Regions from separate parts of the Homo sapiens genome. Here regions 2, 3, 4, 5 and 6 are each linked to region 1. Evidence: promoter capture Hi-C in 16 types of primary human blood cells and fetal thymus (Javierre and others, 2016). All regions are on one chromosome and are shown on one strand. The core of a region is centred on a gene start or on the middle of the fragment in contact, and the rest is flanking DNA. Distances in the headings are between cores, read along the strand shown.

Evidence for each region. The method cuts DNA at HindIII sites, captures the fragments that hold promoters and counts their contacts. A CHiCAGO score of 5 or more calls a contact.
Region 2: a contact is called between a fragment that was not itself captured here and the fragment with the promoter of LONRF1 in region 1, in 1 of 17 cell types (naive CD8 T cells). The highest score is 6.5, in naive CD8 T cells.
Region 3: a fragment that was not itself captured here is called in contact with the fragment with the promoter of LONRF1 in region 1 in 1 of 17 cell types (monocytes); the score reaches 5.7 in monocytes.
Region 4: a fragment that was not itself captured here is called in contact with the fragment with the promoter of LONRF1 in region 1 in 1 of 17 cell types (naive CD8 T cells); the score reaches 6.9 in naive CD8 T cells.
Region 5: the fragment with the promoter of PPP1R3B here is called in contact with the fragment with the promoter of LONRF1 in region 1 in 1 of 17 cell types (naive CD8 T cells); the score reaches 5.1 in naive CD8 T cells.
Region 6: a fragment that was not itself captured here is called in contact with the fragment with the promoter of LONRF1 in region 1 in 1 of 17 cell types (naive CD8 T cells); the score reaches 8.8 in naive CD8 T cells.

The regions. Positions count from the first base shown.
Region 1 is chr8:12,752,976-12,758,185 of GRCh38, reverse strand. It overlaps LONRF1 (LON peptidase N-terminal domain and ring finger 1), which reads left to right and starts at 2,660. Exons shown (of 12, transcript NM_152271.5): 1 at 2,660-3,486. The coding sequence starts at 2,766. RefSeq lists enhancers at 654-713, 2,367-3,186 and silencers at 2,162-2,831, 2,912-3,251, 3,255-3,445, 3,342-3,881, 3,932-4,011 and 1 more. The HindIII fragment of the contact is 11,195 bases long and covers 1-4,476 here.
Region 2 is chr8:8,871,981-8,877,190 of GRCh38, reverse strand. All of the region lies in intron 1 of MFHAS1 (multifunctional ROCO family signaling regulator 1), which reads left to right. Among named protein-coding and RNA genes, the nearest start is that of MFHAS1, 19 kb to the left of the region's middle. The HindIII fragment of the contact is 1,846 bases long and covers 1,697-3,542 here.
Region 3 is chr8:8,990,310-8,995,519 of GRCh38, reverse strand. The region is part of intron 2 of LOC105379227 (a long non-coding RNA gene); the gene reads left to right. Among named protein-coding and RNA genes, the nearest start is that of ERI1, 10 kb to the left of the region's middle. The HindIII fragment of the contact is 6,566 bases long and covers 1-5,210 here.
Region 4 is chr8:9,008,143-9,013,352 of GRCh38, reverse strand. ERI1 (exoribonuclease 1) reads right to left here. Exons shown (of 7, transcript NM_153332.4): 2 at 5,205-5,210; 3 at 1,601-1,811. Among named protein-coding and RNA genes, the nearest start is that of ERI1, 7.9 kb to the right of the region's middle. The HindIII fragment of the contact is 3,993 bases long and covers 1,225-5,210 here.
Region 5 is chr8:9,147,927-9,153,136 of GRCh38, reverse strand. PPP1R3B (protein phosphatase 1 regulatory subunit 3B) reads left to right here and starts at 2,479. Exons shown (of 2, transcript NM_024607.4): 1 at 2,479-2,574. It overlaps PPP1R3B-DT (PPP1R3B divergent transcript), which reads right to left and starts at 1,412. Exons shown (of 5, transcript NR_183348.1): 1 at 1,221-1,412. RefSeq lists silencers at 1,475-1,724, 2,225-2,494 and enhancers at 1,845-2,084, 2,131-3,079. The HindIII fragment of the contact is 22,346 bases long and covers 1-5,210 here.
Region 6 is chr8:9,547,185-9,552,394 of GRCh38, reverse strand. No RefSeq gene overlaps it. Among named protein-coding and RNA genes, the nearest start is that of TNKS, 6.1 kb to the left of the region's middle. RefSeq lists an enhancer at 1-15. The HindIII fragment of the contact is 524 bases long and covers 2,183-2,706 here.

The sequences.
Region 1 (5,210 bases), core at 1,411-3,910:
AGTTGTATATAAGAAAAGCACTGTGTTATGTTACTCTTAAATAGGAGTTTACCAAACTATATCAGGAAAAGTCTTATGGTGTGGCAGTGGGAGGCAGGGATAAGCAGGCAATGATGGTGATAAGCATTTTCCAAATTAGGAAACAGATACGCTTTTCTTCTGACTCTCTTACATAACTGATCTATTTTAGAAGACAACACTCAAAAACCGAAACAGAATACAAATCTCATGATTTTACTACTTTGTTAGCAAAGAATGACACGAGCAAGTAATGCGGAAGGAAAAGGAGAGCTCTTCACTCCATTATACTTCTCCTAGCCAGGGGCAGCTTAGCAGGATTCCCTCTTCTCCATCACAGCCTGCTGGGTGACTCAGAGACCTGTCTAAATTTTAGGAAATGAACGAAGAAGGACACTAATTTTTCTCGCCTTTGAATTTAAACAAGCAGTCACATTATTGTGCAACTTTTGGATGGCAGAGAATGATGGAAGGGTGACCTGTGACAGTGCCAGTGACTGCTTTGCCTAGACTTCCTGATTCAAAGGGAAGTTATGCAGCACACAAAGGCCACAGCGGCAGTACAGCCTCTTACATAAATAAGTTACATAAATGAGAACAAGTTATGTAAATGCATAAACCAGCAAACATGAATTATAACCATTCACAAATGCCAAGGAGAACACGGTAAGATTCCTCCTACGGTCCCATTTTTTTCTCCCGCACATTATCATAATTGTGCCATTTTATTTCACATCAGAATCAGATGTGGTTGTCATATTTATTAGGAAAAGGAACTCCAAAGGACAAATAATACTTCACATTATTTTCTGAACCACATATTGTACTTTTGGCAGAAATCCCATAATAGAACCTGACTTTATATTTGAAAAGAAGTTTATGAGTGTTTATTAATTTACTATGCTCCTTGTAATAAACATGAACACATTGATTACATATTTACTGTTGTAAATTTTGCAACATGCCATTAAGAACAAGGATGCGTTACAAAAATGAATGTGCGTGTACACATGGATATTTGTTTGTGATTTCAAGTCTCAAGGGAGTATGTGGACATCAGCTGAAAGTCACTGTTCTGCTTGTTAAGGTAGTAATTTAGGGGTTAGGATTGGATTTAAGGTTATGCTCATGACTTAATCCCAATGCTTCCCATGCCAAATGCTTAGGAGGTGCTCCTTGGATCTAGCTGCAATTTGCTTCAGGTGCAATGTGAGTGATAAATGAACTTGTTTCTGTCTGCATCCTGTTGGAACAGGAGGCTTGGCTTTTTCTCAGGCACCTCTTTTTTATTCATTCCCTTTAGGGTAATATAACTCTGTCTTTTCTGACGTTACACGACTTGTTGATTGTGTAGTGAAAACACATGAACTCAAAACATTTTTTAGCCTTAATTGCCTGTTCCTTATAAAGAGAAATATTAAACGTTTACCAATTTCATACATAGCATGCTCAGGTGAACTTTCCAATTAGCAACTTCTTTTACTTTGAAAATCTCATATATTTCTATGAAATATTACATATTTTATTAAATATTACATATTAGTCTAACGTAGTAGTAGTGGAATAGACGTGATCTTAAAATCTGTATTAGCTGTGTGATTTTTGACAAATAACTTTCCCTGTGTTTCCAATCATTTGAAAAAGGACTAAAAGTCCTAAGTGACTTCCAACATTAGCGATCTAATACCCTATCATCAAATCTGTATTTTCAGCTGAGAGCTTTAAACTTGCTGCTGTGAAGTTTAAGGGAAATAGCACCCATTATATATCAACCCGATCATTTTCTTCTGTCAGCAAAACTGCAGAGCCAGCTTGGGTTGTAGTAATACGGTGACCGCCATGTGAAACATGTTTCTTGGTGTTTTCTTTTAAAACTGCCAAATATAGACCTTAACCAGCTGTAAGGCAGTGCTTGAGGTGTGGAGACACCTGAGGAAGCTGTGGGCTTTCTCCCTCGAGGTGGGCCCACGATGAGTTTTAAGCAAGACGGGCAAGCAGTCACCTGGCACCAGGAAAAACTCCTTGCCCTCTGGAGGGAGTCGCCCCAGGAACGTGGGTTTTTTGTTCATATTTAAAGTTGAGTCCTCTAGAACCGAAGAGTCCCAGTCATCTGCCGAAGGTGCGCTCCCAGGCCCCCTGCTTGGGCGCGCCCACCTGGAACATGGGCGTAGAGCTATGAAAATGCAGACCCGCACAAGCGCGAGGCCACGCGGGGAGACCCCCGCCCGCCAGGAGTTGGGGCAGGTCCGGCCTGGGCGGGGGCGTCGGGGGAGGGGTGGTGACCCGGAGTCCCGCGCGGCAGGGGAGCGTCCCCCAACCCCCGGCAGGGGCGAGGGCCACCGCAGGTGGCGGCGTTGGCAGACAGGCAAGCGGGGACTGAAGCTCCGGGGTCCTTCCGGCTTTGTTCCGTCACGAGCCGAGCCCTCCTTTCCGGAGAAGCCAATTAGATCTCCGACGGAGGAATCATCCGACCTGCGTCCCCCACCCGGAGGGGGCTCGGAAGGGGCGGGGCCCAGCGCTTGGCTCCTCGGGAGCGCGGCCGCGGGCGGCGTGGGGGAGTCCCGGGCGCCGTCGCCGAGCCCGGCCCCGCCCTCGCCAGGCCCCGCCCTCGGGGCTTCCCGGGCGCGCGCAGCCCCGCCGTGTCCGCGCGCCACGCCCCCCTGCTCGCGGGCCGCGTGCGGAGCCGCGCGCCCGGGAGGCTCCGGGACCGTGGCGGCGGGCGGCGGCGGCGCAGCCCTCCGCGGGCCATGTCCTCTCCGGCGGTGGCGAGGACCTCCCCAGGAGGGAGTCGGGAGATGGCCCCAGCGCCGCAGGGCCGAGGCCGGTTCTGGGAAGTGGGCGGCGGCAGCGGCCATCGGCTGGAGCGCGCGGCCGCGGAGTCGGAGCGCTGGGAGCTGCTGCTCCGCCGCGGGGAGCTGCTGGCGCTGGGCGGCCACCTGAAGGGCGCGCTGGAGGCGTTCGCGGCGGCGCTGCGCCGCGGGGCCCCGGCCAGGCCCGAGTGCCTGGGCGCCCTGGTGGACTGCCTGGTGTTCAACTACCGGCTCCGCCACGGGCTGGGCTGGAGCGCGGCCCCGGTTGCAGGCGCTGACGGCGGCGCCGGCGGGCTCCTCAGATGCCTGGGCTGCCGGGGCTTCCTGAGCGAGCCGGTGACCGTGCCCTGTGGCCACAGCTACTGCCGCCGCTGCCTGCGGAGGGAACTCCGCGCCCGCTGCCGCCTCTGCCGGGACCGGCTGCCGCCCGCCACCGCCAGTGCCACTGATGCTGAAGGGACCGCCCCGCGGCCGCCGCCTCTGGCCGCCGCCATCGCCGCTTCAGACTTCAGAACCAGCGTCGTCCTCAACCACCTGGCCGAGAAGTGGTTTCCGGGCCAGCGCGAGCGGGCCCGGGCGGCCGGCAGGCTCGGGGAGCTACTGCACCAGGGGCGCTACCGGGAGGCCCTGGCCGCCGCCTGCGAGGCGCTGCGAGCAGGTGACCGCGCGGGGATGCGGCGGGGCCGGGCCGACCGCACCCTCCTGGCCCCGAGGGCCGGGGACCCGGAGCTTGTCTGCGCCCCGAGAGTCTCCTCTGCTTCCCCGGGGCCGCTGGGCCGCTGGCGTGTCGGGTCTCGGGGTGCTGGGGGGTGTGGGAGGGGGCGGCGCCCCGGGGTGCTTCGGTCATAATGGGGATCGCCCTGGGAGCCGACTGTGACGCGGCGCGGGGAGGGGCGCTCGGCGCGGGGTTCCCTCGGCCGCGGCCTGGCTGTCGGGCGCGCGCTCCCGGCGCGGAGTGGGTGACCTGGACCGAGGCCGCCCCGGCGCGGGATGGGTGGTAGCTGGGCTATCCCGAGCGGCCGCTCGCTTCCTGCCGCGCGCTTTCCGGGAATTGGCTCTCGGGCCGGGCCCGCCGCGGGGAAACGACTGCCGGGGCGGGGAGAGAATCCCCCGCGAGGGCAACTAGGCCGGGCAGGCGGCGTCTCCCTTCCTCACCCACAAAAGTCACCGGGACAATTGGGAACCGCGGGAGGGCAGAATTGCATAAGCTGGGGGCGGGGGGCGTTGTGTAACGGGTGACGTCCGGTGGGCGTGGCGGGAGCTCCGCGCGGGCGCCCGGCCCCGGGAGGCCCTGCAGGCCGCCGGGCTTGGGGCTTGGGGCGGAGCTGCCCAGGGTGGTCCCTTGCTACCTGGAAATGCCTGAACTGGTTCCTCTTGAAAGTTTCAGCTGGCCTGTTTCAGATCCTGCTTATTTCCTATGTACTTTGCAGTGCACCTAGCTTATGGTAAAGATGAGAGGGGCTGCCTGATCCATAGTTCTCTGCCACGCTTCTCCTGGCCTTTCCACTTAGGATCAGGCTGTGGGGAAAGGCCTTATAGGTCTTGAGTGCATTTCTTAGTCTCCAAGAAGCAGCCTCGGCCTCCTAACCTAGGTTAGCACTTTCTTCTTAAGGTGGTTTTAGGCGCTGAAAGGGGGCAGTTTCAAGCTTCTCTTACGTAAAAGGAAGAGTTGTTCTATATAAATCAGTAGTTCTCTACCAGGGGGATTTTATCTCCCCTCTCTCAGGGGGCATTATTTAGAACAATATCTGGAGAGATTTTTGGTTGCCACCTCTTGTGGGGGTGGTGCTGGTACCGACATCTAGTGGGAGAGGCTGGGGTGCTGCTCAGACATCCTACTAGGCACAGCAGGATTCCCACAACAAAGAATTATCAGGCCCCAAGTGCCACTGTTGATAAACCTTGTGTTACGCGTATTTCAAGATCTTAGTGTCTATCCATTGGCATGAAATGATAGGGGAATAATCCCCAAGAAAACAGACATCTAGAATAGCAACTGACTTTAGGTATTACAGGTAAATTTATAGACTGTGTAACTGAAAGGATCATCTTTCGGGTCATCTTTTGTCCCAAGTGCTTAGTCATATTGAACTAATGTCAAGATCTTGTGTTGTTTAGTATCTTTAGAGTTCGAAGCACAAACCCCGGAGATTTTTGTATTCTTTCAGTGCCTTCGTGAGGAGTAGGCAGGTATAAAATAGAAAGGTAGGCTCAGAACAAAAAAAAAGTATTTGGAATACAGAATTCTGATACACATGACTCTGCTTCTCTGGGTGAATAAAGAGAAGAGAAACTGGACTCAGTTGTACAGACCACCTAGTAACTGACCATGGTGTGATTTTTAAAGCGAGGAAGCAGATGCCAGGCAGTGAAGACTTGCAC
Region 2 (5,210 bases), core at 1,370-3,869, 3.9 Mb after region 1:
GTAGTTGGGACTACAGGTACATGCCACCATGCCCAGTTAGTTTTTATATTTTTTATAGAGACAGGATTTTGCCACGTTGCCTGGGCTGGTCTCAAATTCCTGGGCTCCAGCAGTCCACTCACCTTGGCCTCTCAAAGTGCTGGGATTACAGGTGTGTGCCACTGCGCCCAGCCCTGGACCACCATGTCTTATGCACTTCATTTGTTGGACACCACTTACCGCACTATGACAGTGGTTTCATTTTTTTTCTTTTTTTTTTGACTGAGTCTTGCTCTGTCATGCAGGCTGGAGTGCAGTGGCATGATCTTGGCTCACTGCAACCTCTGCCTCCTGGGTTCAAGTGATTCTCTTACCTTAGCCTCCCGAGTAACTGGGACCACTATTTAGAAGAGTGATAAGTTTGTGGATAAAAAGTCTTTTCTTCATAGAAGAGGTGGAATACAGTATGATCTCTGTTCATATGAACACCTTATGCTCTTTTAAAAGTACTTTTTCCCCTTTATAAAAACTTATAGGCCAGGTGTGGTGGCTCACACCTGTAATCCCAGCACTTTGGGAGGCCGAGGCGGGAGGATCACGATGCATACACCACTATGCCCGGCTAATTTTTGTATTTTTAATAGAGACGGGGTTTCACCACGTTAGCCACACTGGTCTCGAACTGCTGACCTGAGGCAGTCTGCCTGCCTCATCCTCCCAAAGTGCTGGGATTATAGGCATGTGCCACCACGCCCGGCCGACAACAGTGGTTTCTTGCATCTTATCATCATTTGAGTTTGTCTTCCCTTGCCTGCCAACTTATCAAAGTTTCCTCAATTACATTTAATCAAATCCTAGGAAGTACAAGGTATTTTTAAGTCTTAGGTTATATTTTGTTTGTATTTGCTTTATAGATTGACTTGAAACAGTTGGGATTTTGTGTAGTTTTCAAATTGAAGCATTATAATATGGTGGTTAGTTGCAAGAGCTCTTGGAGTAGACTGCTGGGCTCTAATCCCTGTGCCACTGCTTCTTAGTTATGTGACTTTAGGCATCATAATAGTTTGTGTTGGTTCTGAAGATTGAGTTATATGTGTTAAATGCTTAGAACAATGCTTGACACCTGGCAAGAGCTCAGTAGGAGTTTGCTGCTGTTTCCACCATTCCAGAAGGTACAAGAGTCTAAACATACTTTTAGAAGAGTGATAAGTTTGTGGATCAAAACTCTTTTCTTCATAGAAGAGGTGGAATACAGTATGATCTCTGTTCATATGAACACCTTATGCTCTTTTAAAAATGCTTTTTCCCCTTTATAAAAACTTATAGGCCGGGCATGGTGGCTCACACCTGTAATGCCAGCACTTTGGGAGGCCGAGGCGGGCGGATCACGAGGTCACGAGTTCGAGAGCAGTCTGACATGGTGAAACCCCGTCTCTAGTAAAAAATTGCAAAAATTAGCTGAGCGTGGTGGCACGCACCTGTAATCCCAGCTACTCAGGAGGCTGAGGCAGGAGAATCGCTTGAACCCAGGAGGCAGAGGTTACGGTGAGCTGAGATCGTGCCACTGTACTCCAGCCTGGGTGACAGAGCGAGACTGACTCAAAAAAACATAAAAAATTTGGAGAGTAGAAGAAAAAAAAGTTTCTCATGGTGGGTATCTAAAGTAATCACTACACATTTTGCTCTGTGTCTTTTAGCTTTGTTTCCTCCTTAAGCTTAGGTTTTAAAAATATGTAGTTATAATTGTATAAATAATTCAAATATTGATTTTTTAAACTTATGCTAACATGGATATAATTTCCTGTGATTAGTATTTATACAGTAATTAAAAATGCTTGCATAATAGTACATCAAGGTGATTTTTCACCTTTGTTTATTTAACCTTGTGTTCTTTTTGTTTATCCAACCATTTGTGCTCTTGTTCCCAGTTTTTTTTGTGAGTGATTCTCTGATGACTGTATTTCTTTATAAAAACTCTTTTTTATTTGGGCAGTAATCCCCGAAGTAGAGTCATTGAGTCAAAGGCAAAAAATGTCATTAAATCTCAATGCACGTTTACGTTGCTTCCCATGAGGATGGGCACGTCAGATGCAAGATCTTTTTCACTGTACCTCCTCAACATTGGGTATCATCTATAAAATGCACTACCGTTTAATGGAAACAATATGTCACTGGTGACTGAAGATTTTAACTAGTGGATGTGAACGTTTTCTTGTATAAATGTTGCCTAATTGTGTTGCTTCTTTTCTGAATCCTCTAATAACATCTTCTGGCATCATCTTGGTGGTTTTTCTTTTTTTTTTTTTAATCACAGTGTTTTATCAGTTTATATTAACTCTTCATATATAAAAGATAACCTTTTGTCTATCATACTTAAGGCATTTTTTTCTAGCTTGTTCCCCTCTTTGCTTTAAAAACCTTTAACGTTTTGAAGTTTCAAATTTCATTCAGTATATTAATAGCTTCCTCTGTGATTTCTTCTAGAGCTTAAAAAAACCTCATAACATTTTTCTAAATACAGAGGTGACAGCGGGAATCACATAGTGATTCTTCACCCTTATAACTTTAACTGAAAATAAAAAAAGTGCTATCCATATGTGGATGGTAGATTCATTAGCAAAGCCCCCTTTTTCATAACCCCTCCCCAAACTGTCTCCTCTGTAAAATGTTTCTTGCTGATTTCTTCCAGGGAAAATAAAGCATGTATTTGCATATATTTTAACAGGAATGAGATCATGCTGTACTCCTTGTTCTGCACCTCGCATTTGATCACTTCAAAATATATTTTTGAGATGCCTCCATATGAACAGTTAGAACCCTGTTATAGAAGATTATTATGTGTGTGTGTGTGTGTGTGTGTGTGTGTGTGTGTGTGTGTGTAGAATGTTATAGTATATCCTACAAATATAGCATAGTAGTCTACCAATGGATGTATTGTTCAGTCACACCTATACCGGCAGACCTTTGATCCTTTCCAGATTGTTAAACTAAGTACGTTCTCCACCTTCCAGAGGTGTAAGAAATACTCAGTTTTATTTCCTTCAGGGTTAATAATCCCTCTCTGTGCTCGGAACACTCTTGAGATGCAATTAGAAAAAGACAAATCTCTAAATCAAAGTGGTGGGACCTAAAAAAAGCCTCGAGGGTTATGAAGGCTTCGCTTTGTGATTTGAAACAAGGTAATTTTTTTAAATTGGCTTTGGTGATGTGTATTGGAACACCATTGTTTTCAGCATAATTACGCATTTCACAGCTTAATTCAGCCATTACACGTGATGCAGTGTTTAGACATAGCAATAATTACAAATTGTACATGTTTACAGATAGATATACCGCTGATCAAAATAAAACAGTGGCAGCAAGAATGATGTTCTGTCCATGTAAGAAATCAATGAAATATAATTAAGAACGAACTGTATCTCATTGACTCAAAACATTGCATCTGCCTTTCTGTCCCATCTGTTTTCTAAACAAAAATCTTCCCGCGCTGCGTGGTTGTTTTTATTTGTATCCTAGAACCATCCTCTCGAGTTCCACACCGTTGTATTTTCTACACCTAAGCTTGGTGTGTTCTGCACAGGAAATGTTTCTTGGATGTTTTATCCTCATACCAAGTGGGAATTTAAAATTTAAGAGATTACCCACACTCTTTGCCTTTCTGTACATGTGATGAAGAAAGAGTGGGTGTAACCCAGCACTCTAAAATGTGTTTGACCTGTAAAAAAAAAAAAAAAAAGTAAGCAATTAAATCCTGTTATAGTTGCTTCTGTGTTTAAAACATACTTAATGACGTATATATTTATTTCAAGCTAACAAAGTCCCCAGTCAGGTTCTTGGGAGTTTTTTTCACAGGACTCATTGAAGTGTTTGGTCTTTAAAATCCTTCATTTCATGCTAACTGCCAAGTCAATGCAGACAGTATGGCCGAACAGAGCTGGTCACATTTTCCCTGAACATGCTATTAAAAAATATATTCACTGGGATTCTCTTGACTCATGGCATAGCTGAGGTGACTTTGATTCCGGAGGGCTATTGCTTATGAATTGCATGTGGAAGAACTAAAAATAGAAATGTGAATTTTCCAAAAGAACACTATGATACCAAAAATGGCTCACTGGCTTGCCTAGAGCTGGGCTGTTTTGTGCCCAAGGTACAGTAATAAGAACTGGGATGCAAAGCCCTGTAGGGTGCATCTGTCCCCTTCCCTGACACCCCTCACTCCCAGATGGCTCACGAGTGGCACTGCCCGGTTGTCTCCGTCTCACTCTTGCACGATGTTCTGCTGCCTGTCTGGGATGGAGCAGGTGTTCTTTTGAATGTATTTGTTAAGCCTCTGAAATATATGCATTTCCCCCTCCCCAAGAAAAACACACATGTGCATGCTCTGTGCTTTTCCCTGGTTACTGTATTGTTCCCATCTTTTTTTTTATTTTTATTTTTTCCCTTGGAATAGGGAATATCCACTCATTTTCTATTTAGTCCCTTCAGGAATTTGCCTTAGGGGCTGTTGGGCCAGGCCTCACTGCAGCCAGCCAGAGCTTATCAGCTGTGTGTTAACCTCTCCCAGACACTTCTTGAATGCTGTTCATGCATCCGAGCCTATGCATCTGAGCCTCCTCTGTGTAATGTGGTGCGGCATTAAAAGCTTACCCAAATAGCAGGGATGATTGCATCTTGTTGATTACCAGGGCTGATAACATTTTCTTGCTTAGCTAAAAAGAAAAGCCAGATGACTGTTTCCAGGAAGTGATAAACTGCCATGCATCCGGCCCCAGGTGGTCCGCATGAAGGAAGCTGCAAGGTTGGAATCCTCCTGCCGTCCCCTTTTACAGTTCATAAATCTTCTGATTTATGGGGCCATTTGTGATTGCAGACACATTTATTCATGGGGGGATTTCCATCGAGATCATAACCCACTGTAAAGCAGGAGGAAGAATCAGGAATTAGAACGGTGTACATTCCTCTTTGTTAGAAAAGAATCCCGATTCTTTGGTCATAGACAAATATTTGCTTTTGAAGAATCTGGTGGTGTGTCGCTGGCTTTGTTCATATCCGTGCACAGTCACATGCTCCCTTGCCTCCCATGGACCCAGAAGCTTATGTTACACAGATCGTTTTATAATGCTTGCCATCCGGGCATGTTTATGCAAAGTGTGAATAACTTTTTGCCTTAGCCTCCTCTTCCTTCCTTCTCCCTCCTTTGATTTAGCTCATTTCTGGAATGGGGCAGA
Region 3 (5,210 bases), core at 1,411-3,910, 3.8 Mb after region 1:
ACATATTTAATAAGTAATAGGAGGAATCATTAATGTTTATGAAAGGAGAAGCATGCATGTGCACTTGAGCTTCATACCTCTTCATGGGTCACATGTACACAAATGGCAGCATTAGCATAATCTGAGTGTGGAGTTTTCAGCCTTCTGACATCAGAAGGTGAAGCAGAGGACCGAAAATCCTCTGTGCATTCTCTATAGACTGGCCAGAGCATCTCCATCATCAACGGTCTCTGATAAGGAAGGTATGCATTGTGAAACTGGCGAGCTGTCATGTCGAAACTGTAAAGAGGGAAGGGAAGTCTCGTCATGGCCTCAGACAATTGGCTAATAGTGATAATAGAGTAAGTCATCGGCTCTTGTCTTCCACAGCTGATTCCTGTTTACTTCTTAGGAAAGATTCTGGTTAAAGGTTAATAAGGAAGGGGCAGACTGAGGCATGTCTGACCTCCTGTCCTGAGATGACCTGGAACTCTGTTTTAAGGTTTCTCTGGGGTCTTCTTGGCTGGAATGGGGTCCATTCAGAAGTTTGGGGGGTTTAGGAATTTTTTTTTTATTTTTATTTTATTTTTTTTTGAGACAGAGCCTCACTTTGTCACCCAGGCTGGAGTGCAGTTGCACAATCTTGGCTCACAGCAACCTTCACCTCCCGGGTTCAAACAATTCTCCTGCCTCTGCCTCCTGAGTAGCTGGGATTACAGGTGTGTACCACCAAGCCTAGGTAATTTTTTTTGTATTTTTAGTAGAGGTAGGTTTGGCCATGTTGCCCAGGCTGGTCTCAAATGCCTGACCTCAGGTGATCCGCCTGCCTTGGCCTCCGAAAGTGCTAAGATCACAGGTGTGAGCTGCCACACGTGGCCTTAGGGGATTTAGGATTTTATTTTTATTTCTCACTCTAAATATGGGTACATTCTGAGGTACTGGGGGTTAGGTCTTCAACACATAAATTTAGGGGGACACAACTCACCCCATTACATTTGGCATTTACATTCTATTGCAGAGCTATCATTTCACATTTGATTTAGTTTATTTCTCATGTTTTGGCTTATTACCTCGCTGGCTTAGTTTCAACAGCCCCTTATCATAACTTCTCATAGCTTCTGTGGTTCACTATCATAAATCCCTTGCCAACATCCCAACCTTTTTCCCTGCGAAAACCCGCCATGATCATAAATCTATTTTCCTTCTTCATGCTTTCTCTGAGTTCTGAGAGAGGCCTTAGAGATCATACAATGGCCAGATCAGTGATGTGAAGAATTAATGACCACCTGCTCCACCTGGGTGCTAATCCTCCTTGGCAGCCGTCATATTTCTCTCCTTGTCTTGTCTTCCCTCTCTCCACAACTTCTGCAGCAAACCTTCTTTGCTCTCACCTCCAACCTTCCATCTCCTTTCCCATGTACTCTCACCAGACAACCTTGCCTCCTGCTTCACAAAGAAAACAGTTTTAGCTTTTTACTGCCAAGTCTACATGCTCACATCTGGTCGTGTCTTTGTTTATTATGTTGATTTTTGTTCATCATACATTTCTTACATTAATTTTGATGTACTAAGAGATTGATGCCTGTAATCCTAGCACTTTGGGAGGCCGAGGCGGGAGGATCGCTAAAGGCCAGGGGTTTCGGACCAGCCTGGCCAAGATGGCGAAATTCCTTCTCTACTAAAAATACAAAAATTAGCTGGCATGGTGGAGCATGCTTGTAATCCCAGCTACTTGGGAGACTGAGGCACAAGAATCGCTTGAACCTGGGAGGCAGACGTTGCAGTGAGCTGAGATCGCACCCCTGCACTCCAGCCTGGGCGACAGAGCAAGATGCTGTCTCAAAAAAAAAAATTACACTAAAGTGTTTATCTTAATTACTGATTTTGGGGGGATGCCTCCTTAAATTTTGTGCCTAAAGTGAGTGCCTCCGACGCCTCACCTGAGTCCTAGCCCCGCCCCACCTGAGTCCTAGCCCCGCCCCTTTCAGCCACTCCTCCCTCCCACCTTCATTTTCTGGTTTGATACCACCACTCGCTCCCTCAATTCCCCTCCTCTCCTACCTTCCCAGCAATCTTGAATTTTGTATTATCCAATCTCTGTTCTGTATCTTCAGTGTTTTCCTCATCAGTAGACCTTTCCCTTTGGCATTTAAATGAGCTTGACTCAAAATTTTCCAACTTAAATAGCCCTCCAGCCAAACAAAACACCTCCTTCAACCTCAGAATTCCTATGGCTGCCGCACTATCTTTTCTCCCGCCCCCTTTGGTGCTAAACTTCTTGAAAGAATTGTCGCTTTTTTCACACATCTACCCACTATTCAACCTACCCTAATTTCTCTTCCACCCCCATGGTCCACTGACATCTACTTCTCCACTGAGGTCACTAGTTATCCCCGTGTGGTTGAACCCAGTAGCCTCTTATCAAAGCTCATCTGACTTGATCCTTCAACAGCATCCAGCGTTGCTAACTTTCTTTGTTTGTTTTTGTTTTTTGAGACGGAGTCTTGCTCTGTCGCCCAGGCTGGAGTGCAGTGGCGCTATCTCGGCTCACTGCAAGCTCCGCCTCCCGGGTTCACGCTATTCTCCTGCCTCAGCCTCCCAAGTAGCTCGGACTACAGGCGCCCACCACCACGCCTGGCTAATTTTTTGTATTTTTTAGTAGAGACGGGGTTTCACCTAGTTAGCCAGGATGGTCTCCATCTCCTGACCTCGTGAACCGCCCACCTCAGCCTCCCAAAGTGCTTGGGTTACAGGCGTGAGCCACCACGCCCGGCTGACTATTCTTTATTTACTGCAACACTCTTTTCCTTTGGTCTCCATGACAGCACACTCGCCTGCTTCCTTCCTTTTTCTCTGGCCATTTCTTCTCAATCTCCCTGATCAGTTCCCCCTCTTATATCCAATCATTTAATTCCGGAATTCCTTCAGGACTTGGATCTTAGGCCCTGTTCATAACTTTTATATTCTTTTCAAAGTATAGATTCTTGCTCTAGGTATTCTATGCATTCATCTAGCTTTATTTACCATCCAGTAGCCAATGACTCCAAAACCTGTTTCTACCCACGATCTTAACTCAGAGCACCAGAGCCACATAACGACTTGCCTATTCACAAACACCACAAACTTGACATATCCAAGGTGAAATCATCATCTTCCTCCCCAAACCAGCCACTTCTCTAGTGTTTCTGTTTTTCTTTTTTCTTTTTGTTTTTTTTTGTTTGTTTGTTTGAGGCAGGATGTCCCTCTGTCGCCCAGGCTGGAAGTGCAGTAGCGCAATGATTGCTCAAGTGACCCTCCTACCTCAGCCTCCCGACTAGCTGGGACTACAACCGCTCACCACCACACCCGGCTGATTTTTGTATTTTTTAGTAGAGGCAGGGTTTTGCCATATTGCCCAGGCTGGTCTCCAGCTCCTGGACTGAAGCAATCCTCCCACTTCGATCTCCCAAGGTATTGGGATTACAGGCGTGAACCACCATGCCCAGAATGGTGTTTCTTTTCTCAGTAAATAGCTCTACAATCCACGCAGTTGATTGGGCCAAAAATATGGGCATCACTTTTGACTTTTTTAAATCTTTTCCTTCCTTAATGCCTTCAGGATGATCTGTGTTATATTTTTGTCTCCTGATTTAGCACAAACTACCTTTTTTCTCTTTCCATTCTTCTTTTAGTACCTCCACACACCATGCCGGTTCCCATTTCAGAACTTTTGTTAGCTAATTTCATTCATTGTTTAGGTCAGAGATTCAATTTCCCTTCCTCCAGGATTTTCCCCCCAAACTCCCAGATTTTGTTACATCTCACCCTTTGTGGAATCTGCCTCCTTTCTTGGCATGTTTTCTTTTGTTTAGGATAAAGATTTGAAAAAAAGAAGAAAAGACCAGTGGCAATGGTTCACACCTGTAATCCCAGCACTTTGGGAGGCTGAGGCGAGAGGATAACTTGAAGCCAAGAGTTTGAGACCAGCCCGGACATCATAGTGAGACTCCATCTCTACAAAAAATAAAGAGGAAAAAATACAATTAAAATTTGATTGGGAATAAAATAGGCCTTAAATATATGTGGCTTCAGTGAGGTAGAAGTTAACATATTTCTCTCTGAGGTTAATAGAAAGATGTCGAGGACTTAGGGCTTTTCTGTCTTGTAGCTTTATCATTCCTAGTATGCTGTCCTCATTCCCATGTTCCAGACACCTCCCCATTTCACACACCGTTCAGCCAATGGAAAGACAGAAACAGTAAAAGGGAGGCTATGTATTTCTCTATAACTTCTTCTCACATCCTGAAGTCATGCATATTAATTCTGCTTATATCTTGCCCTTTGGTACTTAGTTATAGGACCACACATTAGTTGCAAAATTAGACTGGTGAAAATGTTGTCTTGTTTCTGTGGACAATTACTTATGAACAATTGAAAGTCTATCACTATTGAAGAAGGGAAGATCAAATATTAGGACCACTAACAGTCTCTGCCACAATTCTGGTGACCCCACATATCCACACATACCGTTTTTCCTACACATAAAACATACTTGCCCTTTCCCTAATGGAGGCAACCCCCAAGTCTCATTCTAAGCATTACACGATTGTTTAAGAACATTTGTGTGACCTGGTACAAATCATGCCCTATCTAATCTTGATCACAAAAACAAACAGGATCCTCTGCTCTAATCACAGCACCAGAATGTGTAGCCTTGCTGACAAGCACAACCCGCTGATAGGAAGGTATACACATATCCAGACCCTTTCATTAAGAATATCATCCACCAAGGCCTGGCGTGGTGGCTCACGCTTGTAATCCTAGCACTTTGGGAGGCTGAGGTGGGCGGATCACCTGAGGTCAGGAGCTCAAGACCAGTCTGACCAACAAGGTGAAACTCCGTTTCTATTAAAAATACAAAAATTAGCTAACGTGGTGGTGCATGCCTATAATTCCAGCTACTTGAGAGACTGAGGCAGGAGAATCAGTTGAACCCAGGAGGTGGAGATTGCAGTGAGCCGAGATTACGCCACTGCACTCCAGCCTGGGTGACAGAATGAGACTCTGTCTCAAAAAAAAAAAAAAAAAAAAAAAAAATTCACCAAAAAAAAGAAAAGAAAAAGAAAGAAAACCAAAATGAAACAAAAAAAGAAAAGAAAAAAAAAACAGAAAAAAGAAAAGAAAAAACAAAAATAAAAACTTAAAAAATATGTCATCCATCAAAGTTCATTTTGCACATATTTATGTGTCTT
Region 4 (5,210 bases), core at 1,972-4,471, 3.7 Mb after region 1:
AGTGTTAATTTTTTTTTTTTTTTTTTTTAAGTGAGAATGGCCGGGCATGGTGGCTCACGCCTGTAATCCTAGCACTTGGGGAACCTGAGGCAGGTGGATTGCCTGAGCTCAGGAGTTTGAAACCAGCCTGCGCAACATGATGAAACCCTGTCTCTACTAAAATACAAAAAATTAGCCGGGCGTGGTGACACACACCTGTATTCCCAGCTACTCAGGAGGCTGAGGCAGGAGAGCTGCTCGAACCCAGGAGGTGGAGGTTGCAGTCAGCTGGGTTTGCACCACTGCACTCAAGTCTGGGTACAAGACTCTATCTTAAAAAAGAAAAAAAAAAGTGAGAATGGTCAATTTTGCCAGGAGTTAGGGTAAAGGTCAAAGATGATGTTGATGAGTGATTTTAGTGGAATGATGGGATTGAATACACAGCTTAAACTTTATTGAAGGTTATGGTATAAATTTGAGAGAATGGAAGAAAAGGAAAGAGATAAACATATAAGTACCTATAACTTAAGTGAAGAATTTTCCCAAAAAGAGGAACAAAGAAATGCAGTAGCTGGCAGTGAAGTGGGATGAAGTTTTTACACAGTGTGAAAAATATAACATGTTTTTGTGTAGTGGGAGCAATATAGACAAAAGCAATAAATCATAATGTCCAAATGAGGGAGAACTGCTACAGTAACGTCCTTGAGTAAGAGAGAAGTAAAATCTAGTGACTTATGCAAGATTATTTGCCTTCATAGCTGCCATTTTTCCTTCTAATTTACTGACCTTCAATCTGCTTTGGATAAGAAAATTATAGAAATAGGCTAAGACTATAACTAAAAGAGATTTTGAATAGCACTAATAACCTATGCATTTTAATTCACAAAACCTTTTTATACTTACTCCCAAGTGGGTTGGTAGCAACTGAGGATATCACAGAAGTGACTTTTGGAAAGTTGAGATGTTAGGATATTCTTGCTCAGATTTTATAAGGTAAACAGTATTATTTTAGGGAATTCCTACTAGACTTTCTTAACTAATAAAGCACTGACAAGTATCTAAAGCACACATATTATTTGGCTTAGAAACCAGGGTTATATGAGTCATTTCACCCTTAAACTTTCCACCAGAGAGAGAGGTTCAAAAGTCATTTTTGTAAATTATCATTCTTAGAGATCAGAGTTCACACTAGGCCACAGTGGTGGTTATCAAGCCTGACCGCATATTAAAACCAACTGAAAAGCTTCAAAAAAATGCTGATGTCAGAGGCCCTATCAGAGAACTAAATTAGAATCTCTGGGACTAGGGCCAGGCATCAGTATCATTAGTGTTTTCTTTATTTTTTTACTTACCAGGAGATTCTGATGTCCACACCCAGATGTTCTAAGCAAATGGAAAACAACATTTTAACTTCCGCTACTGCAAAAAGAAAGCAGTAGTCTCTAAAATTGCTTTGTTACAGCTTTTCTATTAATCAAGCTGATATAAAGTTCATGGCAAAGAAAAAACTTACTTTAGAAGTCTAATTCTGGCTAAAAAGCAAATGAGGTCCTCCACATAACCAGTAAACACCAGAATAGTTGCTGCTAGAAATACAATTAAAATACAAAAATTCACTTACTATTTCTAAAGTATGCGTATTCAGTAAAACAACCGGAAATTCAATTATTTCATGTACAAACTCAGGTGGGTTTCCTTCTTCACAAGTGGCTTCAAAGTCAATAATACAAATGTAGTCATAATAACTGTCAGCAAAATTGCTCTCTTTCAGCATCAGCTTCTGCTTCTTATAATAGTTTTTCAGTCTCTTCTTTAGAACATCCTTTACTCCTCTAAGTAGAAGAAGAAGACTAGTTACACTTAGGTAAATTCTACAGTCAAGAATCAAAACTCTCACCTGCTGGCACTGGGCTGAACACTGACAATCACAGCGAAATTTAGCAAATGCTAGCTAAAATAAATGTAAGAAAAGCAAGACTCAAAGCTAAGTTAGCAAAGAACTAATTAAAATAATATGTTTATTACAACATTAACATTTTCCTTCACAAGTCTTTTTTTATTTTAGTAGTATATAACAGTATTTTCTCCAACATATACTGGTACTTCAAACCATAAACACTGTCAGCATATACTACCAACACAGTCGTCATACTGCCTTATATACTAAGATAACATATATGATACAAACATTGAAATTAATATAAAATTATTCCACTGGCCAAAATATAAACTTAAGAATATAAAAATTTGGGTTAAGTTGAAAATATCGTATTATCTCTTTCCTTTCTTTTGGCTTTTGTAGGTTAGTCAACTCAAAAGATTCATATGAATATGAAAGCATTATGAGCCTAGCATATAAAGGTGAATGTCTGTTGGCTACTTAACAAGGAAAACTCAATTAGAATACACTCTAAGTAAACTGTCCAAAGGAGCATTATCACACTAGTAGGTTCTTAACTAGAAATAAGTTTCTTAATTTATCATGGGTAGAATATGATTTAGGGGATTTCAATATTATAGGTAGCTTTAAAATATACATTCCACAAATGGAGTAGTGGGGAGGAGAGAAAGGTCATCCTAACAGATAACAGTGATCAGGTGACTTCATTCTTTAAACAATATGTATTTTTCCAAAAAATTAAGTTGCAACCAGCATTCAGGCTTCCTTCAGCGTTATATAAATGAATCCTATATTGGCCTGCAAATATGAAATGGAAGTAAAAATAAAAAGATCTAAATTATAATTAATGTGTAGTGCCAAGTAAAGTATCATGTTAACTGATTAATGACTATTTAAAAAAAACCTTTTTAGTCTTTTATTTTCCTTTCTAAAATACAATTAAGCACTGAAAAAAATCCTACCCATGAAAATAGTAATAATCAACCAGTTAGCTTTTTTAAGATGAAATGTCTTAATATTGTTTCTTTGCTTGAGATTTTCAAAATTATCAAGACCTACGGAGAAAATCCTTAACCTCTTTCATATTAAGGCACTGTGAGTGACCTCTGTGTCATGTGACAGCTTTGGATTACTTTCTTTTTTTATCTTTTTATTGGTTGTTATTGTTGTGGGGTGGGAGGTGTGATAGGGGGAGAGACTACATTTACCAGAGTTGTCTGCAAAGCTAATGGCAGGACAAACATACAACTAGTTGCTCTGGATAGAAACCTGCTATCTTTAACATCTCCTTTGCTCTTCCAAATATTCACCATGTTTGTCAATTCTAACTCAGAAACATATTCAGAATATGATTCTCTCTAATTCTTTCTGCTATGGCTCTCATTAGCTTCGTTGAGCATGGCAAATGCCTCCATTACCACAACACTTCGATTCATTCTTTACTTTACTTGAGAACTGAGCACTAACACCAATTTTCTGCTTAAATATCTTCAGTGGCTCCCTTCTGCTTACGAGGTAAAATGCAGACTTCAGCATAGAGTTCCTTCACAACTTGGCTACAACCTATCATTTCACTATCATTGTCACATGTTCCTGAGGTATACTGTGTACTGCAGACAAAATATACTATAAGCCATGGCCTCAACCAGCCAGATGGCTCACGTCTATAATCTCAGCACTTTGGGAGGGGGGTGAATCACTTGAGCTGGAGCTCGAGACCAGCCTGGGCAACATGGAGAAACCCTATCTTCACTAAAAATACAAAAATTAGCCAGGCATGGTGGTGCATGCCTGTAATCCGAGCTACTCAGGAGGCTGAGGCACGAGAATCGCTTGAATCCAGGAGTCGGAGGTTGCAGTGAGCCGAGATCACACCACTGCACTCCAGCCTGGCGACAGAGCAAGACTCTGTCTCAAAAAAATAAAAAATAAAAGGCATGTTCTCAATACACTTTTATGTCCTATAACTTTGGTTGCACAACAGGTGAAGAAAAGGCAAGATCATGTTGCAGAAACCATACAAACTGGAATTAGAAAAGTTTCTGTTATTTTTTTGCCTGAAATACCCTCCCCCTCCCTTTTCTGTTTGGCACAATTCAAATGTCATCTTTCTGAATTCCTGAGAAATATTCTCCTCTGTATTCTCATGCTGTACCTGGCCAGACCTCCAATATAGCATTGGCCACTCTGTATTGTGATGATTTCTTTGTATGTTTTCCCAAAAGACTGAGATTGCCAAAGTGGGGAACATATCTGTATTTACCTTTATAACTTCAATGCCTAGTGCAGTACTTAGAATTCAATACAGGCTTGTTGAATAAACGTATAAACATACATCTAGATCGCTAGCTCCCACGCAAGCCAGGAGTAAGCAACTGATCTTCACACCTGGGAAGGACAAAAATTTTGCTCGGAAAATCTTCTGTAGGCTACAAGTTGTACCTTCATAACAGAAAGAATCGGGGAAATAGGAGTCAAAAATTTCTTCATACATTATGATGTAGACAATCTAGAAATTAATAAATTTGTGCTCTTTTGAAGAGTGGTGAAACTCTAAAGAGGAAGAATACTACTATTAAGAGAATTATGATTCAGAGATGTCTTGAAAAAGGAAGAGTTTTTACCTATTTCATACAGGCAATTTTTTTTCTTGATGCCTGGCAGTTCTACCGTTTATCAAAAATCGATGTATTTTTCTGGACTCCAAAAGCCATTTCTGCCCCATGGCCCAATGAACGTAAAGTGATTTGTTTCGCAAAAAATTACTAAAAACTTAGGTATGTGTATATCTCATTAAAATACACATACAGTTGACTAAGTTGCATTGTTTTCTCACTCAATATACAGTGAAACATAATGCAAACGATCATTGTAGATTATTTTTTAGAAATTAAAACAAAAAATATTCCTGTTAAGTGAATGTTTTTAATTTATTGTACCTGATTTCAAACAAACTCTTTTTATAAAAGATACAAATGGCAAAAAGAAAATAAAAAATACTCTATCTCACTAATATAACTATCCATCATTTAAATGAGCAACTAAAAAAATTTAAAACACTCTTGTCATAATAAGACAGAGACTCCTATACATTGCCGGTAGGTCATTAAAATATTTGACTTTGATTCAGCAGTCCTATCATCTAGAAGACAGACAAAAATAATCAGAGTTGCACATAAAAAATGTTAATTAGTTTTTGTGAACTGTTAATAGGATCATGTCATTACGGTAGGATTACAGATGATTTTTAATATTTCAATGTTTTCAAGATTTTCTAAAATGAGCATGTACTACTTTTATAATTTTATAAGTTATTTTTAATTACCTAGTT
Region 5 (5,210 bases), core at 1,230-3,729, 3.6 Mb after region 1:
TCGTGTCTGAGGGTGGGTCCAGCTCTCAGGCTCTGGAGCTCTGCACTGCTGGGTCTCCTGGTAAAGCCCTCCTCTGAGCTTGCATCTCAGCTCTATCCTGATGGCAAAGACTGTGCTCTTTTCAAACTCATAGATGACACCCTCCTACCTACTAAGGCTGTGGTGTACCACAACTAAGTTTAACCCCTCTCTCCTGGTCTGAAAAAGTCATCTAAACCACAGGGGAAATTATTGACCATGGTTTCCTAGATCTATGCAAGAAAAATGCTCCCAAACCCTAATGCTACAAAGCTGTATTTACTTGTCCCAACTCTTTCCCGGTGTGGTTCGGATTACCCTTTGCCTGCATATGTTTTGCAATACCTCTTGGCTCTTCATCTTTGCCCACTCCTCCAGCATGCTCACTACACCTGAGAAACTTAGCCAGTACTTGGCTTAAAAATCTTCAACCTACTCATCACCTAACAAGAGAGGGTTTAAAGTTGGCAGAGGGAATATTGCACAGAAACGCTATTTGCCAACCACCTACCAATAGCTGACTTCACAAGTGGTCCCTTATCAGATCTGCCCATCAGAAAAGAAGGAAGAAGATTAATGATCATTCTTCAGACACCAGGACTCCCTCCGGGGAAGCTCTCTATAGAGCTAAAGGCTTGTATTGGATTATTGTCACCGATCACTGTTTTAGGCTTGCATTCCTAGTAAAATTGAAGCTGAGCCTGTATCCCTTACAGTAGAAACTCCCAAATGCCATATTCAACATAATGAGTTTTCAGAAAGCTAAATATATCCAATGGGAAAGACTGGCCATTACATCCTTCCTGCATTTCGTTGTTATTGCTATTAAAGTGTACTTTAAAAAATAAAAATAAAAGGATAGTAATAGAAGACAGCAGGGTTTATTTTCATGTCTTTCTTGGCAGTTTAAAAAGTTGGCAATCCTATATCAATTTCTAATTTTTTTCTAAAACTCTACTGGTCATTAAAATTAGAAAACTGGTAGCCTCATGCCTAAAGTGGCTAGTTCAGATCAAGTTACATGTAAACTGAAGAAAGGAAGAGCCTCTGATTCAAACTCTTTAAGGTCATCATTTTTTTCTTTTTCTAAGACCATTTTCTATAGATCTCAAGGTGCATAATATGCATCGCGGAGGCCCTGTAGATTTAGATAGCGATTATAACCGATTCAAGTCAGGAAATTTCTTCTGAAGTATACCTACCTGTGAAACCCTCCATATCTGGGGCGCTCTGTGCCACGGGTGTCAGACTTTTGCAAAAGCCCTGTCATTCTAACGGGACGCCCTCCTGTAGGAAGTTGCCCCCTGGCGCCCGTCCTCCGGCTTCTGATGAAACGGCGACCCACCACCCCCTTCCCAGACCCTGGCCCGCAGCCGGATCACTCCGGGCGCGCTGCCGATCACGTGGCGAAGCGGTGCTCCCCAGCGCCGTGGCTGCGCGCCCATTGGTCGGCGGCTGGAGTCCCGGGCGCGCCCATTGGCTGCGGGGGGCGTTCACGTGGCAGGGGGCCTGGGATGGACCCCGGGGTCCCGAGAGCTGGCAGGAAAGTTAAAGGGGGCAGCGCGGCCGCGGGGAGCTCGAGTCCCGGGTGACTGCTGGAGGGAGGAGGTGACCGCGCAGCTCTCGTGCACGGACGGACTTCGCCGCCCGCGGGGGGCGCGAACCCGAGCCCGGGCCCAGCTCCTGCCGTCACGGCAGCTGTCCCTGTTCCCCCAGGGCGTATGCTGCCGCGGGCTGGCGCGTCTGCCCTCGGGACTTATGAGCTGAACCCGGTACGTAGCTCCCCAAGTCTCGAGTCCGAGGGAAGGGCTGGGGACAACAAGGCGAGGGCGTGCAGCGGGGACCTCTTTGGGTTCCTGTCACCTACATTTTCACCGTGCGACTTGCACTGGCACACCGGGGCTGGAACACTCTAGGTAGCTGGCCCCAGGGAGCTGTTGCTTCAGCGTGGAGAGGGCGATCCAGGGACCGCAGCTGGGAAGCGCCTCCCGGGCCCACGTGCTCCACCGCGCTGCTGGGCCCGGCTGCGACCGTGACCCGGGAGCTGCGGCTGCGGCGGCTGATCCCTTTACCACCTGTTGTTCTGGCTTCGAAACTAGCACAAGTTCCCAGCCCCGGGTCCCGAGAGGTCTGGAGACTTCTCCAAAGTTGGGTAGTGGGGTTTGGAGCTTAAGGACAAGCCGCTTCGTCTCTCTCCGGGCCTTATTTTCCCTATAAAACGCGAGGAAATACACTTGGTAGGCTCTCAGGCCACCGAGGGCGACGGGACCTAGCACGATCCCCGTCCCGGGCTGGCGGAGGCCAGGCGGCCGCGCGGGGGTGCTGGTGTCGCGCTGCTTGCTCCGGCCGGGGTTGCCCCTTTGCCGGCCCCGCCCGGGTGCGATAACGGGCTCCTCCTCCTCGTCGTCTTCCTCCCACCGCCGACATCTCCGGGAACCCAGCCCAGGCCCTGCCTCCCGGACACACCGACGCTCACGTAGTCGCGCTTGCCACAACCCTGCGGGCTCTCCGATGCGGCGAGCGAGCTGGGGAGGGGGCTTCTCCGCGGCCCAAAAGGTGGGTGCGGCGCGAGGCCAAGGAGGCTTGTAGGGAGGTTGGGGGCGGAGTGCAGCCCTGGTCAAACTGGACGGAGGGGACAGAGTCGGAGAGTAACTTGTGGGATCCTCCAGCCTGGAGAGCACTGGCCTGCTCCTGCGTCTCTTTGGAATCCAGAAAAAGGGGTGTGGAAGGCACAGTAGCTGCAAAAGAGGGAGTGGGGGCCGGTAATGACTTACTGGAAGATTTGGGGCCTGTCAGAGCACTGTTTTCTGAAAAAGAGGAGAAAACAGAGGAAAGACTGGACTTGGGAACTTGGAGACTTGGAAGGTGTTGGAACCTGTGGTCTGAGTGGCGGGGGCCTGCCTGGGAGACCCAGGGTGCAGCAGAAGAGACAATTAGAGCTTTGGTCTGGGAGGAAGAGGAGGAGAGGAGGAAATGTTTCCTTGGGCAGAGTTGTCCAGGAGCCAAAACTAAAGTGAAGACAGCTGGAGGACTTACACAAAAGTACAGTTGAGGTATTTAGGAAAAAAAGTTAGTGGGAAGAGAAGCGGCACCAGGGGTGGGTCGCAACATACAATGTCAGGGCCAGCAGGGACCTTGGAGGGGACCTCAAGCCCAGAGCAGCTGAGTGACTCGCTCAAGTAGCAAAGCAAGGTGCGGGCATTCTTAGCCTAGTACTCTGTTTTCCCTCGTACGTTTTTAGACGGCAGGGGCTGTGTCATTTGAACTTGCCTCTTTCCTAGAATATGCAACTGTATTCACAAATGTCAGTCTCCAAGATGCTTTGGATGATGGGGACAGGATCAAGGGGTACAAGGAGCCTTTAAGGCTGTGAATAGGCCCCCATGGTCTGAGTACAAAGGGGAAAGACATGCACTCTCTTCATGCTGGATCAGTGAAACCTTTTGGAAGGGAACACAGAATTGTTGGAGGGAGGTAGATGGCCATGTCTTTAAAAATGAAAATTATAACCTGGTTGTGAATGTTTACTGAATGCAGTTCGGCAGCTTTCAGTGTTCCTGGTGGGTTGCTTGTGCATCTGATTTTTTTGTTTGTTTGGTTTTGTTTGTTTGTTTTGAGACGGAGTGTCGCTCTGTCGCCCAGGCTGGAGTGCAGTGGCGCCATCTCTGGCTCATTGTAAGCTCCGCCTCCCGGGTTCACGCCATTCTCCTGCCTCGGCCTCCTGAGTAGCTGGGACTACAGGCGCCCGCCACCACGCCCAGCTAATTTTTATTTGTATTTTTAGTAGAGACGGGGTTTCACCGTGTTAGCCAGGATGGTGTCGATCTCCTGACCTCGTGATCTGCCCGCCTCGGCCTCCCAAAGTGCTGGGATTACAGGCGTGAGCCACCACGCCCGGCCTTTTTTTGCCTTTTTTTTTTTTTTTTGAGACGTAGTTTCGCTCTGTCGCCCAGGCTGGACTGCAGTGGCGCCATCTCGGCTCACTGCAAGCTCCGCCTCCCGGGTTCGCGCCATTCTCCTGCCTCGGCCTCCTGAGTAGCTGGGACTACAGGCGCCCGCCGCCACGCCCGGCTAATTTTTTTTTTTTGTATTTTTAGTAGAGACGGGGTTTCACCGTGTTCGCCAGGATGGTCTCGATCTCCTGATCTCGTGATCCGCCCGCCTCGGCCTCCCAAAGTGCTGGGATTACAGGCGTGAGCCACCACGCCCGGCCTTTTTGTCTTTTCTTACCAGAAGAAAGAGAGAGAGAGAATAAGAGAATGGAGGGGATAATGTCGTGGCCCTGATACAAAAAAGATTTCCTCCCTATGAAAGGTACAGCCAGAAAGTCAGTAGTTCAGCTGCCTGAAACCGTGAAGGTCATAGGGTTATTTTCTGTGCAGGTCTATAGTTATCACCATGGCCGTCTAACCTTGGCCAGCTGTCTTGAGAAGGTGTGTTATGAGTGGAACAGATAAAGCATTTATGCAAAACTATCTCCATGATCTGTTAGGGTTTGCCCTGTCTTAGCCATGAACACTGTAATCTACCCTCAAGCATGGCCCAGTCTCTCACCAGAGAAACTGATCCCTGAGCTCTGAGGCATCTCTATGGAAGCAAGTGTTTGAGAATTCATACCTACCTGGGAGCAGCACTCATACACTCATTCCTATCCTGCAACTGGTATCAGATCCTGAGTCCTGCTCTCATGGTTCAAATGTATGTCCATAACTTCTGGTTCTTTTTTTTTCCCCCTTGGCCAACTTTGGTGACTCATATTCCCTGGCCTGGGAAAAGGACAGAGCTGGAGCAGCCAGAGAGTCTGTCAGGAGAGGAGGCTGGGCTGCAGCCTGGTGCTTCCTGTGTTGGAACCGATCATTTTCATGTCATTTGTAAAAGAAGCACCTGTCCAGGTGCCTTCTTTTCAGGAACTTAATATTACCTTGCACATCTCAGTTGCTAGGAGTACTTCTGCATGGCGGCAGCCATCCCTGTCACAGTCCGCTGGGGAGTTCCTGAGCAGTTCAGGAAAGCCTACACCAAACCAGCACTTTGGTGTGCTGATTCTTGGAGAATGACCTGGTAAATAAAATCTGGAAGCTATCTGTGGGACAGGCAAGGTGACTGACAGTCGAGTCATACCCCAGATTGAGGCCACACAGGTTAATGTCCTCACCTGCAGTTATGGTGACACACAAAGTGAAGGGATTCTA
Region 6 (5,210 bases), core at 1,195-3,694, 3.2 Mb after region 1:
AGTCTAGTTATTCTTCGATCCCCTCTGCAATGCCTCCTCCGCAAATCCACGAGCACAAGCCAGAGCTGTGGTTTGGCTGAGGCATGTCATTTCCTCATTTTTGGTCTTACCGAAACATAATAAGTTATTTTTATGTCAGAAATGTCTATGGTGCCAAGGGCCCAGATTTCTCTATAAAAGTGTTGCGTTCTCTTAGTTGAAGTTCCATCCAGAAACCCAGGTGAATATTTTTTTACAAAACCACAGATGGGCAATGATGCCAACAGCTGCAATCGTACTAACAACATTGTATCAGAAAAAGCTTTACCAAAAAAAAAACAGGTAAAACAACTTATTACAAGACAGCAAAATTACAGTAATTTAAAGATATCCTCTGTATCAGTTTCTTAGCAACTCTCCCATTAAAGTTTTAGTAGCTTTATAAGATAGCTCTTACATACCAGGGTCTTCTGGCTGCTGCTCCAAAGACATCTGTAGCCTGCACTGAGATAACTTGGATTTTTTCTGGCTATGGTCTGTACGCTCATGGGTAGTCGGTTTAATTTGAAGTGTTAGTTCCAGGCAGAGAGTTAGTTCCGGGCAGAGAGGTGGTTAAAGGTGTGGATTCCACATACAGACTGCTTGGATATGAATCCTAGCTTTGTCACTAACTAGCTTCGTATGATTAAAGGATATTACATCATACATTTTAACAGGAATAAATAAAAATCTATTTGCTGTGCTTTAAAAAAAGAAGATAAACAAGTTTTCCCACCAAAAATGTTCCTTTCCTTGTAAGCTTTTTTTCCAAAAGTAATTAAAATCATACATGTATACCCCATTACGGATTTGCATATGACTATATCACTCAAAAGAGATAAACACCTGCCCTCCCCCAAAGTCATAACCATGTTTAGAAAAGGCTCAGAAAGTCCTGAAATGCATGGATATGGAAGGGTATAACTAGCCAACAACGCATATATAATGATGTAATGGCTTATGCAGATGGATATAGCTAACCAGAATAGAGCTGATGCAACTGCAAACCAAGAGACTGCAAGGCACCCAGAGGACTCACCCTCCCCAATCAGAACATGGGGACAACCCACCAAGCCATGATGAATGTGGATTCCCGCCACTGCTTGAGGGGTCGTGACTACCACATACTGACCGTGAGGTGACTCCAACCAATGGCAAAGATTGGGGCAAAGACATCTGCCAGCAGAGACCATCAGAAATACCGGCTGAGAATGAGTGGCAGCCCAGGCAGTGAGAGGCATTAATCAATCCCCAAACATGTGGTATGTGCCTTCCACCCACTATCTCCTTTTACTTGCTTGCTGTTGTTACTTGGCTTGTTGAAAGAAGGAAATGAATGAAAGCTGTTTAAGTGGTGTATGTGTGTAACTTCTCTTGGTATTACCTATTCCTCCATATCCTGAACCTAGGTCTTTTGATGCTGAGTTGCTCAGAAAAAAATACTGTACAATCCAGGATAAGTCATTTAACCTCTGGTATGGTTTGGCTGTGTCCCCACTCAAATCTCATCTTGAATTATAGTTCCCCAGTCCCCACATGTCATGGGAGGGACCTCGTAGAAGGTAATTTAGTCATGGGGATGGTTACCCTCATGCTGTTCTCATGATAATGAGTGCGTTCTCATGAGATCTGATGGTTTTATAAGGGGCGTTTCCCCATTTTGCTCTGCATTTCTCCTTGCTGCCACCATGTGAAGAAGGACATGTTTGCTTCCCCTTCTGCCATCATTGTAGGTTTCCTGAGGCCTCCCCAGCCCTGTGGAACGGTGAGTCAATTAAACCTCTTTCCTTTATACATTACCCAGTCTCTGGTATGTCCGTGTAGCAGTGTGAGAACAAACTAACACAACCTCTTTGTAAACTCACCTGCAAAGTAGAGACACGAAGTAGAGACATTAATAGTTGTTCTGAGAAATTAGTAAGTTAATATATGCCAAGTGCAATAAACAGTTTCTGGCATGTGATAAATGGAATGTAAGTGTCAGCTTTTATTGTTATCAAGAACAGGGATGGGATATACTTTGTATAAAGGTCACCTAAGAGACACTAGTCTTGTCTGCCCAACAACAAGCAGGTCTCCTTTTACTCAATATTGTTGTTATTTGGCTTCCCATGCATGCTGCTGCTTTTGCTTTACAGTGTCTTAAAGGAAGGTCTAATAAGCTTGGAAATGAAAAGGGACTCTTATATTAAGGGAAATGCAAATAGTCCCTTCTGGCTGTGGTCAGGATTTAGGAGAGATAGAAACTCTACAAAGGAAGGCACCTCAGCCTGAGGTAGGCAGGTTTCTCTCAAACATATTCCTCCCTGCAGTGCTGAGAAACCATCTCTGTTGTGTGGAAAACCACCACAGCTGCCAAGACCACCTCAAGAGAAACCAACACAGCCATAATTCCTGAAGTCAGTGTGGTCCAGGATGTTTGCAGAAGGAACATCCCACAGAAGATGAATTTACAACCTTGAATCACCACACATGAGAGAGGGCCAACAACATGAGAGAAAAAACAGAAAACCTAAAAAAATCAAAGACTACAGATAATACAGCAATCTACAATGTATTTTTATATCCACATTTAAGGTGGGCAGAATAATGGCACCTCAAAGATACTCAAGTCCAAATCTCTGGAAGCTGCAGATATGTTACTTTATGTGGCAAAGTGGAATGAACATCGAAGATGGAATTTAAGCTTGCTAATCAACAGACTTTAGAACAGGGAGACTTTCCTGGATTATGTGAGTGGGCCTAATGTAATCATCAGCATCCTTATAGGTACAAAAGGGAGACACAGAAGGAGGTTGAAAGTAATACCATGTGAAGACTCAACCAGTCAGTGCTGGCTTTGAAGGTGATGGAAGAATCCACAAGCCAAGGAATGTGAGCAGTCTCTGGAAGTTGCAAAAGAAAAGGAAACAGATTCTTCCCTAGAGCCCCCAGAAAATAACTCAATCCTGCTAACACCTTGATTTTAGCCCAATGGTACCAATGCCAGATTTATGACTGCAGAACTGTAAAATATATTTGTGTTAAGCTACTATGTTTGTGATAATTTGTTACAGCAGCAAAAGAAAACTAATACATGCCCTCTTTGGAAAATCAGGTGATATGAAGCCATCAGCCTATTTTTATACAGGACAATAGACTGAAGTGGCATAGTTTCTGCCACTTGGTATTACCAGAGGGCAATTATTCTCCATCGTTCCTTTTGTTCATGTACATCTTTCTGGCTTTACTCAGTTAAGAGGCTGGGTATACTAGTCCCCTATAGCTGCTATAACAAATGACCACAGACTTAGTGCCTTGAAACGGTACAATACAAATGTATTCTCCTACGGTTCTGGGGCAGAAGTTTGGAATCAGTTTCACTGGGCTAAAGTCAAGGCATCGGCAATGTTGGCATCTTATGAGGACTTTGGGGAGAATTTTCTTCTGAGAGCTTTGAGGGGAGAATCTCTTTCCTTGACTTTTTCAGCTTCTAGTGGCTGCCTGTAGTCTTTGGCTTGTGACCTTTTCCTACGTCCTAAAAGCACATCACTCATCTCTGGTTCCATCCCATCATCTTCTGTTTGACTCTCCCTACTCCTACTGCACTCTTAAAAGGACCATTGTGGTCAGGCGTGGTGGGCCCACGCCTGTAATCCCAGCACTGTGAGAGGCCAAGGTGAGAGCATCACTTGAGCCCAGGAGTTTGAGACCAGCCTGGGCAACATGGCGAAATCCTGTGTCCTGAAAAATACAAAAATTAGCCAGGCATGGTGGTGCACCCCTGCAGTTCCAGCTACTTGGGAGGCTGACATGGGAGGATCACCTGAGCCTGGGGAAGTAGATGCTGCAGTGAGCCAAGATCACGCAGCTGGACTCCAGCCTGGGCGACAGAGTGAGACCCTGTCTCCAAAAATGACGGTGACATTGGACCCACCCAGATAATCCAGGATAATGTCCCATCTCAAAATCCTTAATCACATCTACAAAGTCCCTTTTGCCATATAAGGTAGCGTTTATGGGTTTCAGGGGTGAGGATGTGGACATATTCAAGGGCCCACTATTCAGACTACTACAATGAGATGCCATGGCATGCCTTATATGAAGAGGAGAGAGATGCCTGTTCTAGGGGGCAAATTTGGGTTGGTTTAGCACATGGAAAGACAAAGCAGATGATAAAGCACCATATCCAGTCAGAGAGCTGTAATAGGGTCAATGCTGTCCCTGTGGATAATTTAATCCACTAGGACTCTGACCACCTTTTTCTTCCACAAGACATCACACTGGTCCATTACATTGATGATGACATTATGCCGATTAGATCTAGTGAGCAAGAAGTAGCAACTATGCTAGAGTCATTGGTAAAACATTTACATAATAATAGAGGGTGAGAAGTGAGTCCAACAAAAATGTGGAGACTTCTACCCCAGTGAAGTTTCTAGGGGTCCAGGGTTGTGGAGCATGTCAAGATATCTCTTGTAACATGAAGGAAAAGTTGCATATGTCCCTTTCTTCAACTCAAAAAGAGTCGAACCCTTTTAGTGAAACTCTGAGGATTTTGGGGGCAACATATTCCTCAATAGAATGTGTGACTCCAGCCTATTTACTGAGTAACCCCCAAAAGCTGCTAGTTTTGGGTCCAGAGCAAGAGAAGGCTCTGCAACAGATGCAGGCTGTCATGCAAGGTGCTCTGCCACATGGGCTGTGTGATCCAGCAGATATAATGGCGCTTGAGGTGTCAGTGGCAGAGCGGGATGCTGTTTGCACCTTTGGCAGGCCCCTCTAGGTGAATCACAGTGCAGCTGCTTGGGATTTTGGAGCAAAGCCCTGCCATCCTCTGTGGATAACTACTCTCCTTTCGAGAAATTTGCTTGCTATTAGGCTTTCAGTACTAGAGACTGAACACCTACCCATGATCACCAAGTTACCATGAGACCTGCACTGCCCATCATGAGCTGAGTATTGTCTGACCCGCCAAGCCATGAAGTTGTGCATCCACAGCAATACTCCATCATCAAATGGAAGTGACAGTTATGAGATTAGGCTCAACAGGCCCTGAGGGCACAAGTAAGTTAAATGAGGAAATGGCCCAAGTGCCCATAGCTCTCACTTTTCCTACATTATTTTCTCTCTCCCAGCCCAAATTTTTGGCATCATGGGGTGCTCCCTAAAATCAGTTGAGGAGGAGAACATTTGAGTCCGGTTTATAGATG